Linked DNA regions of Homo sapiens: region 2 is linked to region 1. The links are contacts of gene promoters, found by promoter capture Hi-C in human tissues and cell types (Jung and others, 2019). All regions are on one chromosome and are shown on one strand. Each heading gives the region's core, a stretch centred on a gene start or on the middle of the fragment in contact. The rest is flanking DNA. Distances are from core to core; before and after follow the strand shown.

The links. The method cuts DNA at HindIII sites, captures the fragments that hold promoters and counts their contacts. A contact is called where the count stands out against the background at its distance.
Region 2: a contact is called between a fragment that was not itself captured here and the fragment with the promoter of CLEC3A in region 1, in 3 of the 25 tissues and cell types used here (aorta, liver and pancreas).

The regions. Positions count from the first base shown.
Region 1 is chr16:78,019,844-78,027,424 of GRCh38, reverse strand. CLEC3A (C-type lectin domain family 3 member A) reads right to left here and starts at 4,877. Exons shown (of 3, transcript NM_005752.6): 1 at 4,684-4,877. The coding sequence starts at 4,798. RefSeq lists an enhancer at 7,073-7,242. The HindIII fragment of the contact is 19,144 bases long and covers 405-7,581 here.
Region 2 is chr16:77,857,097-77,864,677 of GRCh38, reverse strand. VAT1L (vesicle amine transport 1 like) reads right to left here. Exons shown (of 9, transcript NM_020927.3): 4 at 1,788-1,930. Among named protein-coding and RNA genes, the nearest start is that of VAT1L, 72 kb to the right of the region's middle. The HindIII fragment of the contact is 6,734 bases long and covers 1-6,108 here.

The DNA.
Region 1 (7,581 bases), core at 3,628-6,127:
CACTCTTGCTCCAGCGCTTTCCTGTATTCTTAGCAAGCTTAAATATCTCCTCTTCTGAGAAGGCTTTCCTGGTTATACTATAATTTAGTATCCCTTCTGCTAATCTGTCTTTGAAACTTATTTTTCTTCATTCTCTAGTCTCAGTTCACATTTTATTTTATTCCATATTTTATAGAGTATTCTGTATATTTTCTTTTCTCTATTTTACTTTATTTCATCTGTCTTATTATTCTTGGTTCTTCTGATGCTTAACATGATACTTGGTACATAATAGGTGTTCATAATATTGTCTAGTGAATACACACTTTATGGTATACAAAATTGTTTTCACTTGCTCTTCAAACATAGCTATGAAGGGAGAAAAATTGGATTCCCACTGAAGAATGAGGACAAGTCCAATGAGAGTGTCTCAAAAGATACATGGCAGAATTCATACTCTGACTGATTTGGGTCCCCAGGTCCCCTGTCCCCAGTGTTCCGACTCAACACATGCCTCAGGTATGGTGGCTACTAGCAGGGTTAAGTGCTAAAGGTTCATATAGAAATACGTCTATATTAGGTATTAGCAACTTAAGTCTTGTATGTTCCTGGATGAGGCTAAAGGATCTTTATAGCTGTCCTTGACCAATCTTGGCTATAAGTAAGTGGCAGAAAACAAGAAGCCTTGGATAAATTGAAATTTCAGGTGTAATAAGGATTCTCTTAGAGATTGGCAGCTTGTGAGGTCTTCAAAAGCAGGAATTATAAATCATAACAAAAATTATTAAAAGCTTCCACATACTGTTTGTCAGAGATCAATTCTTTCAGTAGTGCTTTGAGAGAGACACAATCATTGTCTCCATTCTGCAGAAGAAAGAGTCCCGGAAAGCTGAATTCACCTGCTGAAGGTCACCCAGCTAGTAAAGTGAAGAATTGGGATTTAAATTTGCCCAGCTCCAGGCCTGTTCTCATTTCATCCCTCTTACCTGCTTCTGCACAGTGATTGCCTCTACCTTCTTGGTCCCGAGCACATGGCCCCAGACAGAGAAGATACTTAAAGCTTGGTATGAACTGTTCCCAGCTGCTTCTTTGTGGGGATTCCATGGAGGAAGTCTATGTTCTGTACTGGATTTTTCAGGACAGTCTAAAATTCACATGTGCTAATTCACTGTCCCCTTAAACATGTGCTTCATAAGCCAGATGTTTCCTCATTTGGGTTAGGAAGCTGTCTTCTGGAATATCCAGGGGTGGCCCCTGCCTCTGTTTTACTTAATGCTACACATCAGTTCTCAAAGCATCCCATGGCTCAGCTCAGAAATACTATAACCTAAAGATTTTTACCTGTGTGACCATTTAATCCAGAAAAAATGTAAGGGTGCATTCAGAATGCAAATTCATCAGCTGGTGGGGGCCGGGCTTGCAAAGACTGCTGAACACTTTCTTCCAAGGTATAAGCTGTCACCTCTAAAAATGTCATCCCCCATCCCTCTCAGCTTCCTGCTCCATTCTCCTTAAATAAGTGGCCTCTACTGGGAGATTGTAAACATTGTAATTAACATGAAGACACATGAATTGATATTAGGCTCCTGGGAGATGGTTATGAAATTCATTGTCCAGGGACTTGGCTGTAGCTTCCATCCTTTGTAGCTGATATAGATGTCTTTTATGTACAACAAACAAAGGGAATATGTGGAACAACTACTGAGCTGGAAAAGTCATATTTTATTCATGAATGCAACACATAAATTGAGACCTATGAAGCAAGTACCAGAGAGATCTTGTGTTTGAAGCTAAATTCTTCGGTTGCTATTTTGAGTCCCCCAGAAGGCTCCCTTTCATTTTACTGTTGCTCTCCAGAGGTAGACACAGTGTAGAAACACAAAAGTCATTCCCAGAAGACATGGCCAGTAAAACCATTATATGATGTTGGACTGTCAAAATACATAGGAATGGGCACTCCCATACACAGAAGATGGGAAGATGGATTGGTGTTATCATTTGGAGGGACAATTAGAAAGTATAATTAACCTGCAATTTTACTTCTGGAAATGTCTCATAACATCCTAACATGGGGAGCAGTATGTGTGCAAAGCAGTTACTTGGGGCTATTGAATCAAAAAGAGATGTATTGGGAGAGATCAGATTAAGTGATGACCCATCCAAACAATGGAATATTATGCAGCTGTTAAAATGAATAAAGTATTGCTTACACTGGTAACTATCCAAGGTTTAATAGATGAAATAAATTTATTTGCCTAGCCAAACATTCTGCATAGCCAATTCTTATTTTGTTAAAAATATGTATTTTAATTGTGCATTTTAAAAACTCTGGGAATAGGCTGGGTATGATGGCTCATGCCTGCAATCCCATCACCTGAGGTCAGGAGTTTGAGACTAGCCTGGCCAACATGGTGAAACCCCATCTATACTAAAAAAGATGTATGTACAAATATCAGCTGGGCATGGTGGCGAGCACCTGTAGTCCCAGCTACTTGAGAGGCTGAGGTACTAGAATTGTTTGAACCTGGTGGGTAGAGGTTGCAGTGAGCCGAGATCACACCACTGCACTCCAGCCTGGGTGGCAGAGTGAGACTCTGTCTCAAAACAAACAATCCTACAAAAAACAAAACACAAAACTTCTGGGAATAGTATTACCTGATAGTTAATAGTGGATAATTTTGTGGTGAGGATTGGGAGAGAGAAGATGGCTTTCACTTTTGATCTCTTTAACACTGGTATTATTATATTTCAAGGTACTTAAACTATTTTAAAAGTATATGGATGGGTGGGGATATAATTGCTTGATCGGTTTAGGTTTATTGCTTCACCTACTGTAGAATCTACTTTCTAGGACCTAATGGCAAAAAGTAGCAAAAACTATACTGGGGGAATGACATTTAAGAGGTGTGTACCTAGTCAGTTTTGTTTTGTTTTGTTTTTAAATAAAAGCATGTGCATGCACATGTGGTTATGACAGAGGCAGTGGGGAAGAAGGGGGTAAAGAAGTGGGAAAGAAGGTAGGGAGAGAGAAGAGAGTGGGAGGAGGAAGGGGAGGGAGGCCCCTGGAAAACCTGGATGTGACCTAAGCTGCGATTACTTCAGAAACACCCACACAGCACCCACATGCACACTCAGTCATGTTCAGACCCTCTTCACACATTCCTACTGGGTGATCGCCACTCTCACGAGGAGTGCCACTCCATCCAGCAGTGAAGAAACGCTGGCTACAGAAATGTACCATGTCACCCAGTATCTTCTCTCTCCCCTCTCCTTTCGATACCATCTTCAGCAATATGTTTCATCTACTCATGAGAAATATTTTAATCTTTCACCGAAAGAAGTACAGTATTTCTTAAGGAAAAAAGATTCCACTTAAGAAACCTTGCACTAGCCGGGCGCGGTGGCTCACGCCTGTAATTCCAGCACTTTGGGAGGCCGAGGCTGACGAATCACGAGGTCAGGAGATCGAGACCATCCTGGCTAACACGGCGAAACCTCGTCTCTACTAAAAATACAAAAAATTAGTCGAGCGTGGTGGCAGGCGCCTGTAGTCCTAGCTACTTGGGAGGCTGAGGCAGGAGAATGGCGTGAACCCAGGAGGTGGAGCTTGTAGTGAGCCAAGATTGTGTCACTGCCCTCCAGCCTGGGCGACAGAGCGAGACTCTGTCTCAGAAAAAAAAAAAAAAAAGAAACCTTGCACCAGACCTAAATTTTGTAAATAAATGTCCCTGAAAAAATGGTACTTTATAATCCTTAAAGCACAAGACCCCTTTTTACCCACCAGCCATCTGTCATGTGAAATAGACTGTAACCTTGCTGAAATTTGTGTATGTGTGTGTTGTTACTAATGGAGTGAAAATAAGGAAATAGTCATAATCTGAAATATCCTGAAATGAAAATGATGCAGAGGATGTGATAAAACATGACCCTCTGTCTTGTTTTTTTCTTTTGCTTAGGTTTCAACGTATTGCAAACACCTCGCTATCATCATTGTTCTTTTCAATTTCTTTAACCTGTTAACCCAATTCAAGTCACTCAAAATTTGAGGTTCCTGGGAGATTCAGTTTTGCATCACAATGCCTTCAAATACTAGATGACTTTGCATATTGACTTTTTTAAGTTGGAGAGATTCAATGTCTCTGACATGAAAAAGTTTAAATATATGGTATAGGTTGTCCTTATGCTGCCAAGGATATGGAAATACAGCTAATGATAACTAATGACAAAACAGGAAGTCACCATTACCAAAATCTCTATCCTCTGCTACACATTGAATAAGATTATAGTTATCTTAAAATATAACTGAATTGAGTTACTCAATATCTACTAGTGAAACAGTGTGCTCAGTTAATACATTCTTCTTGCCCCATATTAATAACACCAGATTTTCAGAAATCCACTTGAGCTTCCTCTGAAGCACATTCTATTTAAGCCCACCTAACAAAAAATATACAACACAGAATTCTTTTACTATCAAATTTTTTCCCTGTTGTTTTTTTTTAAAACCCAGCAGCCTGGTTTCTTTAAAATAAACTATCCCAGAGCATTACAAGTTCACTTAATCCCCTGAAATGCCATATAGGGATGATGGCATGGTGCCATCACCGAAGATAGTCTCCTGGAGGAGTTTGAAAATTAACATTGTCCAGCACCTCCCCACACTGTCTAAGCCTAGAATTTTGCTTGATTGAGAAGCCCCATTACCTCTCACTCGACGTTTGCTGTGCTTCCTGGCTTTTAATCTGGATGTGTGGCTGGTGGTCTGGTCCAGGAGTAAGGTGATCACCAGGATGCAAATTACAAGTCCATTCTTTGCCATGGCTCTGGGGCAAGCCTGCTGAGCCATGTTGCCAGCCCCCTTAGAGCAGCTATGGAAGGAGACTACACAGCTACATCTTGCTCTGGGATGCCTGGGGCTGGCTTATAAAAGTGAGCTTCGGAGGTTGGCTGGAATCCTGCTGACGGAATGTTTGAATGCCTCTGCTGGCCACAGCATAAGGTGGCCTCTTGTTCTTGTGCCTCATGTTAGGCTTTCTATTTATTTAATTTCTGCTGCATTTCCTAGTGATTTGCCTTTTTGGAGTGTGTCAAACTTAACTACAGGTTTAGCCTGCTTTCTTTTTTTAAATTTAAACTCTGAGAAGATTGGGGTCTTTGTGAAAAATTCTTTGATTTGGAACTCTGAAATTCACTAAATGTTCTGGAAAATGGATTCAATTTAGTTTTCAGGGCAAAAAAAAAATTGGAGAAAAAGGAAAGTTACTGCGTGTGTGTGTGTGTGTGGTGCCACAGCACCATTCAAGCCAGTGTGTCTACTCATACTCATGTGTCTGCGCAGCTCAAGTGTAGCTTGGAAGTAGTTTTCTCAGTGGGATTTATGGAGATTGCGGAAATAGATACTCGATGATAAAATATAGGGCTTTCCTCCATTAGGATTTTGTAGACTCATCAAGAATTACTTCCTTGGGGCTGCATGTGGTGGCTCACACCTGTAGTCCCAGTGGGAGGCCGAAGTGGGTGGATCCCTTGAGGTCAGGAGTTCGAGAAGAGCACGGGCAACATGGCGAAACACCATCTCTACAAAAAAATAAAAAAATTCATCAGGCATGGTGGCACACATTTGTAATGCCAGCTACCTGGGAGGTTGAGGTGTGAGAATCACCTGAGCCCCAGGAGTTCGAGATCACTGCCCTCCAGCCCGGGCAAATTACTTTCTTGGGAAAATGTACCTTACAGTGAAAAGAAAATTTTAAAAAGTGAATTATTTCCATTAGAATAAGAATTAATGTAATAGATCAATAGCTATTTTTTCAGGTCCTCACCAATCATTTTTCCTTGAACACATTAAACAACACTTTCAAGTGCATGATGTAATAGCACAGAAACCTAGTGAGAGACTCGCCGGGCGTGGTGGCTCACGCCTGTAATCCCGGCACTTTGGGACGCTGAGGTGTGTGGATCACTTGAGGTCAGGAGTTCGAGACCAGCCTGGCCAACATGAGGAAACCCTGTCTCTACTAAAAAACGCAAAAAGATTAGTTGGGCGTGGTGGCAGGAGTCTGTAGTCCCAGCTACTCTGGAGGCTGAGGCAGGAGAATCGCTTGAACTCACAAGGCAGAAGTTGCAGTGAGCCGGGATTTTGTCACAGCACTCCAGCCTGGGCGACGGAGCCAGACTCCTTCTCAAATAAAAAATAAAAATAAAATTAATGTAATGAGAAACTCAATTATTCCTACCTTTAACCATAGGCTTTAAGGGCAAGTTTTCGGGACCTGATAGGCTTTTGCATCAAAAGCAATGGACTTGCATTACAGGAATAGCCGAGAGGGAGGAATTTAGACCCAGGGAAAGGCCTTCCTGCATTCCACATGCTTATTTGGCTGACCAGGTGCAAATGGAGGGCAGTGGTTGCAGATTTGGAAGGTCTGAAGGACCAAGTTCATTTTGCCTTTGTTTTTTCTTTGAGACAATACAGAAAGAATCAAGGAATGAGTGCTTCCTTCTGAATCTTAATGAGAAAAACCACAGTCTATTTCATCTTCATTTCCTCCAAGTTAAAGCCATTTTGTAACCTACCAATATAGTAAGACCATAGTAAGACCACTGATGTAGGAAAGTCTGACATGATTCAGCAAAGTAACTGTACAATTAAAGATCTGACCTCCGGTGTTGACTCTTTGTACCAACATGGGCAGTTAATGCATGGGCATTTGAGAACATTGTGAAGACAGGCTGAGCTCAGTTCACAACCTACCGCTTAGCTGTGTGATCTCAGGCAAGTCAATAAACCTCTATAAGGCTTCTCTCATCTTAACAGTGGGGGCTAGGAATGCTTATTTTACAGGGCTGTTGGAAAGATTAAATGAGATAATGGCTATGAAGCACTTAGCGCAATGTCCAGTATTTAATAATAAGATCCTTACCATTAATTACAATGGTACATACAATTTATGGAATGCCATCTTTTTAGTCTTCACAGCAAGCCTGTGGGATAAGTAATAATATTATCTCCATTTTAAAGGTGATTGAGCCTCAAAAGTTAAGTGGTTTTTGTCTAACATCACTAAGATCTCAAGGAACTGAGTAGAAATTACAATCCAGTTTTGATTAACTCCAGAAGACCTGGGCTGTGAAAATGTGCTTTGGTTTGAACAGGGGAAAAGATCAATGATTTACACCTGATCTTACAATTGATCAAAAATTTTCTTTGCCATCTTCCTAAATCCTTTTAAAAAAATTTCAAGTTATGGGCCAGGTGTGGTGGCTCGTGCCTATAATCTTAGCACTTTGGGAGGCCGAGGCAGGAGGACTGCTTGAGCCCAGGACTTTGAGACCACCCTGGGCAATATGATGAGATCCTATCTCTACAAAAAACAGAAAAAATTAGCCGGGTGCGGTGGCACGTGCTCGTGGTCCCAGCTTGCTTAGGAGGCTGAAGTAGGAGGATGACTTGAGCCCAGGAAGTTGAGGCTACCATAGCCTCAACCGTGGTGGCCCATGTTTGCACAACTACACTCCAGCATGGGCAACAAATCAAGACTTTGTCTCAAAACACAAAATATCTTGAATTAATGTTGTGTATTTGTCACAACTGCTGAATGA
Region 2 (7,581 bases), core at 1,492-3,991, 160 kb after region 1:
GCTCTCCCATCCACTTGTCCTTCAGTTTTCCCATCTTAATCTGTGATTTGAAGAAAATTGTTTCCCTTTTGAGACAGGCTCTTGCTGTCTGTCACCCATGCTGGAGTGCAGTGGCATGATCTCAGCTCACTGCAACCTCTACCTCTCGGGATCAAGCGATCCACCCACCTCAGCCTTCTGAGTAGCTGAGACTACAGGCATGCATCACCATGCTCATCTACGTTTTGTATTTTTGTGGGGGGGCACAGGTAGAGATCGAGCTTCACTATGTTGGCCAGGGTGGTCTCAAACTCCTGGGCTCAAGTGATCTGCCCTCCTTGGCCTCCCAAAGTGCTGGGATTATAGGCATGAGCCACTGTGCCCAGCCTTGTTTCTTTATTATGATTCTATCTGGACAACGTAATACCTTTGTACGTAACAATTTTGTGTTGGAAAATGAGAATGCCGAAACAATGGCTCTGGCCCAAATCTGAATCCTCTCGGAAGCTCTGAGTGGCATGGACCCTGAGAACAAGCCTGGGGCCCAGAGCAATAGCCAGAGTGAGACACACAAAATCATCTAAAACCATGATGGCAGCTGGGTTTCCATCTGCTTCCCTGTGCTGACAAACATGTGGCCATGATCAATAACTTCAGAATCACAGGTTATAAACCATCATTCCCCCAGGTGACTGCAACAGCCAGCAAATGATCTTGCAGCCCCAGCCTCCCTCTACCCATCCATCCCCTCTGCACCACCAGTGATTGTTCAAAACTCAAATCAATCATAGCCCCATTTTAGTCTGTCAGTGGCTCTTGGTCACACCCAGGTTGGAGTCCACATTTGCTGGATTGGTGTACATGGTCTTTATGTGCATCTGATACCTGTCTCCTTGCTCAGCCTCACCTCATGCCCCTTCTTCCCTTTCCCCCCAGGTGTCCCTTTGCCAACACCTATAATTAGATGAGATAACAAGACATCCCTGGACTTGCACCCCAGTAAGCCTTCTTGTAGTTCTCCCAGCCTCTGAGGCTCTTGCATTCCTCAGTATGCATGCACACGACTTTCCTTTCCCAGAGCAGCCCCCTCCCTGCCCCTTTCTTCCTATGGATAATTCTGGCTCATGCTTCACTGTTCAGAGAGGTGCTATCTATACAGGAAAATCACGGGCTCCGAAGTTGAAATGCCTGGCTTGACTCCAGGCTCCACCCTTTACTGCCAGTGCCAGGCCTTTCTGGGTGCACCCAATGACAAGGTTTCTCAGTTTGCTTTCAGTAAGGCGTAGCCAACGACCTGAGCAGTAGTGCTAGACTATGAGAAGGGTGTGTGTTCTTTCTGGGACTGGCCCATAAAACCTCCTATTCATGACCCTTTGGTGCTGTCTGCCCATCTGTTGGCTAGAAGCAAAGGACCTTTAGACCCAAGACAATAGTGGAACCATAAGATGAAAAGAGCCTGGGTCTCTGAATGCTCTTACAGAAGATCATCCACCAAATATCCACCTTAAGCTATCATGTGAATGAATGAGAAATAAACTTCCATGTGTTAAGATGGTCAAATAGGAGCTAGCGTAACTTTAATACATTAACTTTCCAAGTTAGCCGATTCGTTCCTTGGTGATAATAGTGAGGTTAAGAGGATTAAATGAACTAATGCGTGTGAAATATTTGGCACAGAGCTAATAATACTAAGCCCCCAATATATGTTTGCTACATATTATTATTATCCCTCTTTTAAATAAGTGCTACTGCTCTTTGAGAGCAGAGCAAGGGCCAGCCTGGTGCTTTTTCAAAAGCAAACATCTTACCTTTTAACTTCTTGCACGTAGTCTGCATTTCTGTCAAAGAGGTGGGTCACAGAGTCTTTGATTGCTTCATGCTTGAAAGTAGAGGCTGTTCCAAAGACAGTCACGTTGGGGACAGTGGAACACAGCTGAGCCACAGCTTGACCCTGGAAGGAAAAGACAATAGCTATGTCACACATAGGAGCCACCAGATCATAGCCAGTCTTGCTGGGTGTAGAGCAGGATTTCTCCATCGGCACTATTGACTTTTTTTTTTTTTTTTTTTTTTTTAGAGATGGAGTCTCACTCTGTCACTCAGGCTGGAGTGCAATGTGCAGTGGTGCGATCTCGGCTCACTGCAACCTCTACCTCCTGTGTTCTAGCGATTCTCCTGCCTCAGCCTCCCAAGTAGCTGGGACTACAGGCACATGCTGCCATGCCCGGTTAATTTTTTGTATTTTTCGTAGAGATGGGGTTTCACCGTGTTGCCCAGGCTGGTCTCGAACTCCTGAGCTCAGGTAATCCACCCGCCTCAGCCTCCTAAAGTGCTAGGATTACAGGCGCAAGCCACTGTGCCCGGGGGGCCTTTTTAAGGTTGGATTAGTCTTTGTGGTAGGAGACTGTACTATGCATTGTCAGATGTTTAGCCCTCCAGGCCTCTACCTACTACATGCCAGTAGCATCCTCCCAGTTGTGACAACCACAAATGTATCCAGACATTGCAAAGTGTCGCCTTGGTGGAAGGACAAAATGTCCTGTGGTTAAGAATCACTGGCATAGAGGAAAGTCAATGGGAATCAGGCGAATCCAAGCACCAAGACTTAAAAACTGATATCTTACAATGCCACCTACTTCACAGCGCTCTTGCAGATGTCTTAGTTTGGGTACCCCAGAAGCCGAACCTAAGATAACGATTTGGATGTAGGTATTTTACCTGGACAATGATCTCCGGAAATAACAAGGTATTAAGACAGTAAAAGAAGGCAGCCAATAAAAGATGTGTTATCAAGGCCATATCTACCATGTGTAACTGGAGCTCAATCCCTCTGGGGAACCCTGTGAGCAAGTGTAGAATACGCCTCTGAGTTATCCCAACCATGAGCAAGGAAGCCGGAGTATTTATCCAGCACATTTGCATCTGATACTTGTTGAGGGCTGCTTCTGCAATAGTAATTCTTGTGCCTATCTGGCTTCTTCCAGTCAAGTGGGCTCCCACAGCAGACAGAAGTCCTAAGCAACCTTCGGCATGTTAAGTGCAGAAAAGATAGGATGTGGCTGACAGCATCTTCTACAGGGAAGTGTAAATAAGGTATTTTGCAACACAGGTCAAAGACCTGGCACAAAATGTGACACTTAGATAATAAATCCTAATTACCTTTCCCCCTTAGGGGCTTATTATATCCATTGCCGAGATGTCCAGGCATATAGAGAAGAGGTCAACACAAGTTTTAAATATTAAGTGGTCCAGGGGAAATCACAAATGCAGTTAGGAGCAGGTTTATTTTTCCATATCGTTTTTCAGTATGGTCAAACTTGAAGTCATTGGACAAAATGTTGTGGTCATGTATATTCAGGCATTTTCCAGTAAAACCCAGTTTTCTGGTAACTAAGGTGCATTCTAAAGCCAAGTGTTGTCTCTTTCTGGTGTTCCATCTGCCATTTTAAGGAGGGAAAATATTCTACCAGCGTCATCTGTGATGTTAATTTCTGCCTATCATCTTATTTTCATGTCTTCATGCTGGCGGACTAAATCAGGTTGGCAGGTCAATTTATGGAAATGTCATCTTATCACCCGTTGCAATTAAAGGCAACACTGAGAGAATCACAGAATGTCAGAGTTGGAAGATCATCCAATTACCCCCTCCCCTGACTGCTCTATAGATAAAGGAAAAGACATTCAGAAAGGTTAAGGTTACCCACTTTTTCAGAGGCAAATCTGGGATTCAAAGTAAGGTCTCCTGGTTTCCACTTATTACCACTTTCCATTGTTATGCTGTCTACTTATTTTGACATTTTAAGCAAAGCAGGCTTTAAACTTCCTACCTAAAATAGACATGTTGCTGGCACACTCCCTTGGAGGTCAACATTTCAGAATATGGGCATGAACCTGAGACTCTGGACAGGCTATAGTTTTCTGTCCTAAGAATAGCATTGATACTTGTTTAATTCTCCTGCCTTCTAGATTTTATAAAGCAAAGAGAGGACTATCTTTTCTAGGGAGGGTAAATATCAGCAACCAATGCAGCAATTCTCTAAAATTTGCTGGCCTCAGATATGTCATAGTTATAGCTCCTTATGGACAGCGCTTGAGATAACCTTCTTACTACTGGGATGGGAAATTACAATTAGTTCCAGTCTCCCTGTATTCCCTTCGCCCTCTGTCCTTAGGCAAATAGGATATTCATTTATTCATTCAACTATTTTTCAAATTTCTATTCTGTACTGGTTGCACTGTGCTATGAATGCCAGAGTGTCCAAAATGATTGGCATGTGTTAATCTCCGGTCCCAAGCTGCCCACTGAGTCCTGGACTTGGGTCTCTATCGTTTTGGCATTTGTCTCCACCTGGCTGTCCCAAAAGCGACACATCACACTCAACTGATCCAAAACCTAACTCGTGGCCATCTCTGAATGAGTTACTCCCTAAGTCAGTTTCCTAGTGCTGCTGTAACAAAGTTCTACTGACCCAGTGGCTTAAACATCAGAAATTCCTTTTCTCACAGTTCTGGAGGCTCAAAGTCTAAAATCAAGGTGTTGGCAGGGTTGGTTCCTTCTGAGGGATGTGAGCGAAAGATCTATTCCAGGCCTTTCTCCTCGGCTTGTAGATGTGCCTATTCTCCCTGCGTCTCTCCACGCCGTCTTCTCTCTATGACACTCTGTGTCCGAATTTCCCCTTCTCATAAGGACACCAGCCATATTGGATGAGGGCCCACTCCAGTGACCTCAATTTAACTCGATTGCCTTTGTAAAGACCCTATCTCCAAATAAAGTGACGTTGTGAGGTACTGGGGGTTAGGGCTTCAACATATGAATTTGGAGTGGTGGGGGTGGGATGCAATTTAACACTCCTCTTACTGTGTTTCCTGCTTCAGTGGATGGACTGCACCATTCCCCAGCGTTAAAGCCAGGAATCTGGGCAGCATCCTGGCCTCCTCTTCCTCCCTCAACCCCACGTCCCTATATTCAGAAACTGTGTTATCTCTTTGTCCTCGACAGCTCTTATAACTGTCTCTTCTTAGTCTGGATCATCACATTTCTCACCCTGGACTATGACAACACTCCTCCACCTGACCTGGCTGTTTCCAAAAGTCCTTCTGTGGTCAGAGTGACATTTCTCAAACACAACACTGAACATGTCACTATTTATTTTGGACTTCCCAATGTCCATCACAGCTTTCAGAATAAAATGCACACATCTAGTTTATCACACTAGACTGGCCCCTATTATCTGACCCAGTCTCCCCTCATTCACTTATTTCCTCCGCTTTTCCAATTTCTACTCCCTAACACACACCGAACTTCAGCCACCACAGTTAGCATTTGCCATGAGCATGGCATTGTGCAGCCCTCAACCCTGGCATTCTCAGAATGACCTTTCATCTTACTTTTGTTTGTTATTAGAGACAGGGTCTCACTCTGTCAGGTTGGAGTGTAGTGGTTCAATCATGGCTCACTGCAACCTTGAACTCCTGGGCTCAAGTGATCCTCCTGCGTCAGCCTCCCCAGTAGCTGGGACTACAGGTACATGCCACCACACCCAAATAGTTTTTTTTTTTTTTTGAGATGGAGTTTCGCTCTTGTTGCCCAGGCTGAAATGCAGCAGCACGATCTTAGCTCACCACAACCTCTGCCTCCTGTGTTCAAGCGATTCTCCTGCCTCAGCCTCCAGGGTAGCTGGGATTACAGGCATGTGCCACCATGCCTGGCTAATTTTGTATTTTTAGTAGAGACGGGGTTTCTCCATGTTGGTCAGGCTGGTCTCGAACTCCTGACCTCAGGTGACCCGCCCGCCTCGGCCTCCCAAAGTGCTGGGATTACAGGTGTGAGCCACCAAGCCCAGCCTTTTTAAAATTTTTTTTTGTAAAGATGGGGTCTCACTATGTTACCCAGGCTGGTCTAGAATTCCTGGCCTCAAGTAATCAATCTTGGCTTCCCAAACCACTAGGATTACAGGCATGAGCCACTGTGCCCAGCGTCACCTTATTTTACTGAGGAAGAAGCTGAGGTTTACAGAGGTTAGATGTCTGCTCCAACACCACTAGAGTAACAGCTTGATCTGCTTCACTCCTGGCTGCCACACATACCAGCTGAGCAACGTATTGGCACCTCTGTTCACTCGTCTAAAATATTTGGTTAGCAATACTCTACACAGTCTAGGTTTACTGTGAGATTACGTGATATAATGCATCAAAGTGCCTAGAACAATCAATGCTCAATACATACTTGCTATCACTACTCCTAAGTCCTCTCTTACTATTTTTCTTGGTCTTATTACATTTGCAGTAGCAGCATATCTGCTATCCTGCTATCAGATCCTGCGTGACTATGCTATTTTAGCATCAACGCCAGTTTCCCCACATGCTTTCCCCCTTCTCATTATGCCCTCCCTTCCTCTTTCTTCTTCCAATCAGGGCTATTCCCACTCAGTCATCTCCATCCCCAGGAATCCTTTCCAGCATCCCAGATAGAGTTGGTTGCCCCCTTTTGTGCCCCTTTGACTTGTGGTTCTTTTCTCCCGAAGCGTGACCACCACGGCCTCTGTGGCTTCTGCCTGCCCCATCTGTGAGCTCTGTGGGGGCAGGGACTGTGTCTCCACCGGCCCTCTGCTCCTGTGCCCAGTGCAGAACCTGGCACATAGTAAATGTCTGGTAAAACTTGGTGGACGGATGCATGAGAAACTGGAGGAGTTGAGTGTATGGGGGCAGCCCTTCCCAGTCGTTTTGCAGCCTTCATGTCCTTTAGTGTTGTAGAGTTGGAGTAAAGCGTGCATTTAATTAACCTATGCAGGTTCTGACTGAAGCAGAACTTCACTATTTCTATTTTAAAGAAAAACATGCACATGGTTAAAAAAAAAAAAAAGAGAGAGATAATATAGGTAATCCAAATCACTTATGTACTTATATTATTATATAACATATAATATGTGAGTATTAGATAATGGATAAATATATGACTTATAACTAGAATAATGTACAATTAATATATATAGCCATGATGTGTATATGTATAATTATATATACATAATATATACTATCTATTTAATAAGTAATAGAGAAATAGAATTACTAATAACACAATTAAGATTAGTATGCTATGTGAGTATTATGTATAATATATAATAATCTATACTTTTATATAAAGATTAATGGATGGAAAACACAAATTCATCACATATCTACTTGCGGCCTTTCTGTTCTCCATCACCTGTCTTAGGCAATGAGAGGCCCTGGTAACATTTTCAATAAATTTTAAATAATGCTTAGCATTCTGTATTTAAGCAGAAAAGTGCCTTCCCACACATTTATAGAAAATCTGTATTCTCCCTTCTCCAACTCCCGAGGTGAATGCAGGATCAGCAGCTCATTTATCCTCATTTCTCCTACGTGCCTAGCAAATAGCATGGACTCAATAACATTTGTGGAAGACAGAATGAACTTTCAATAAAAAGGACCTTGCAGTTTACCTCCAGAACCAGAACATAAAATGAACAAGACAATCCATTCTCCCAGTCACTGCAGTAAATGACGATTTGCATGCGCTTGTTTTTAATGGATTTTCCTTCCTTCTTTTGAACGTAAGAATTCTGCACCACATCTGCC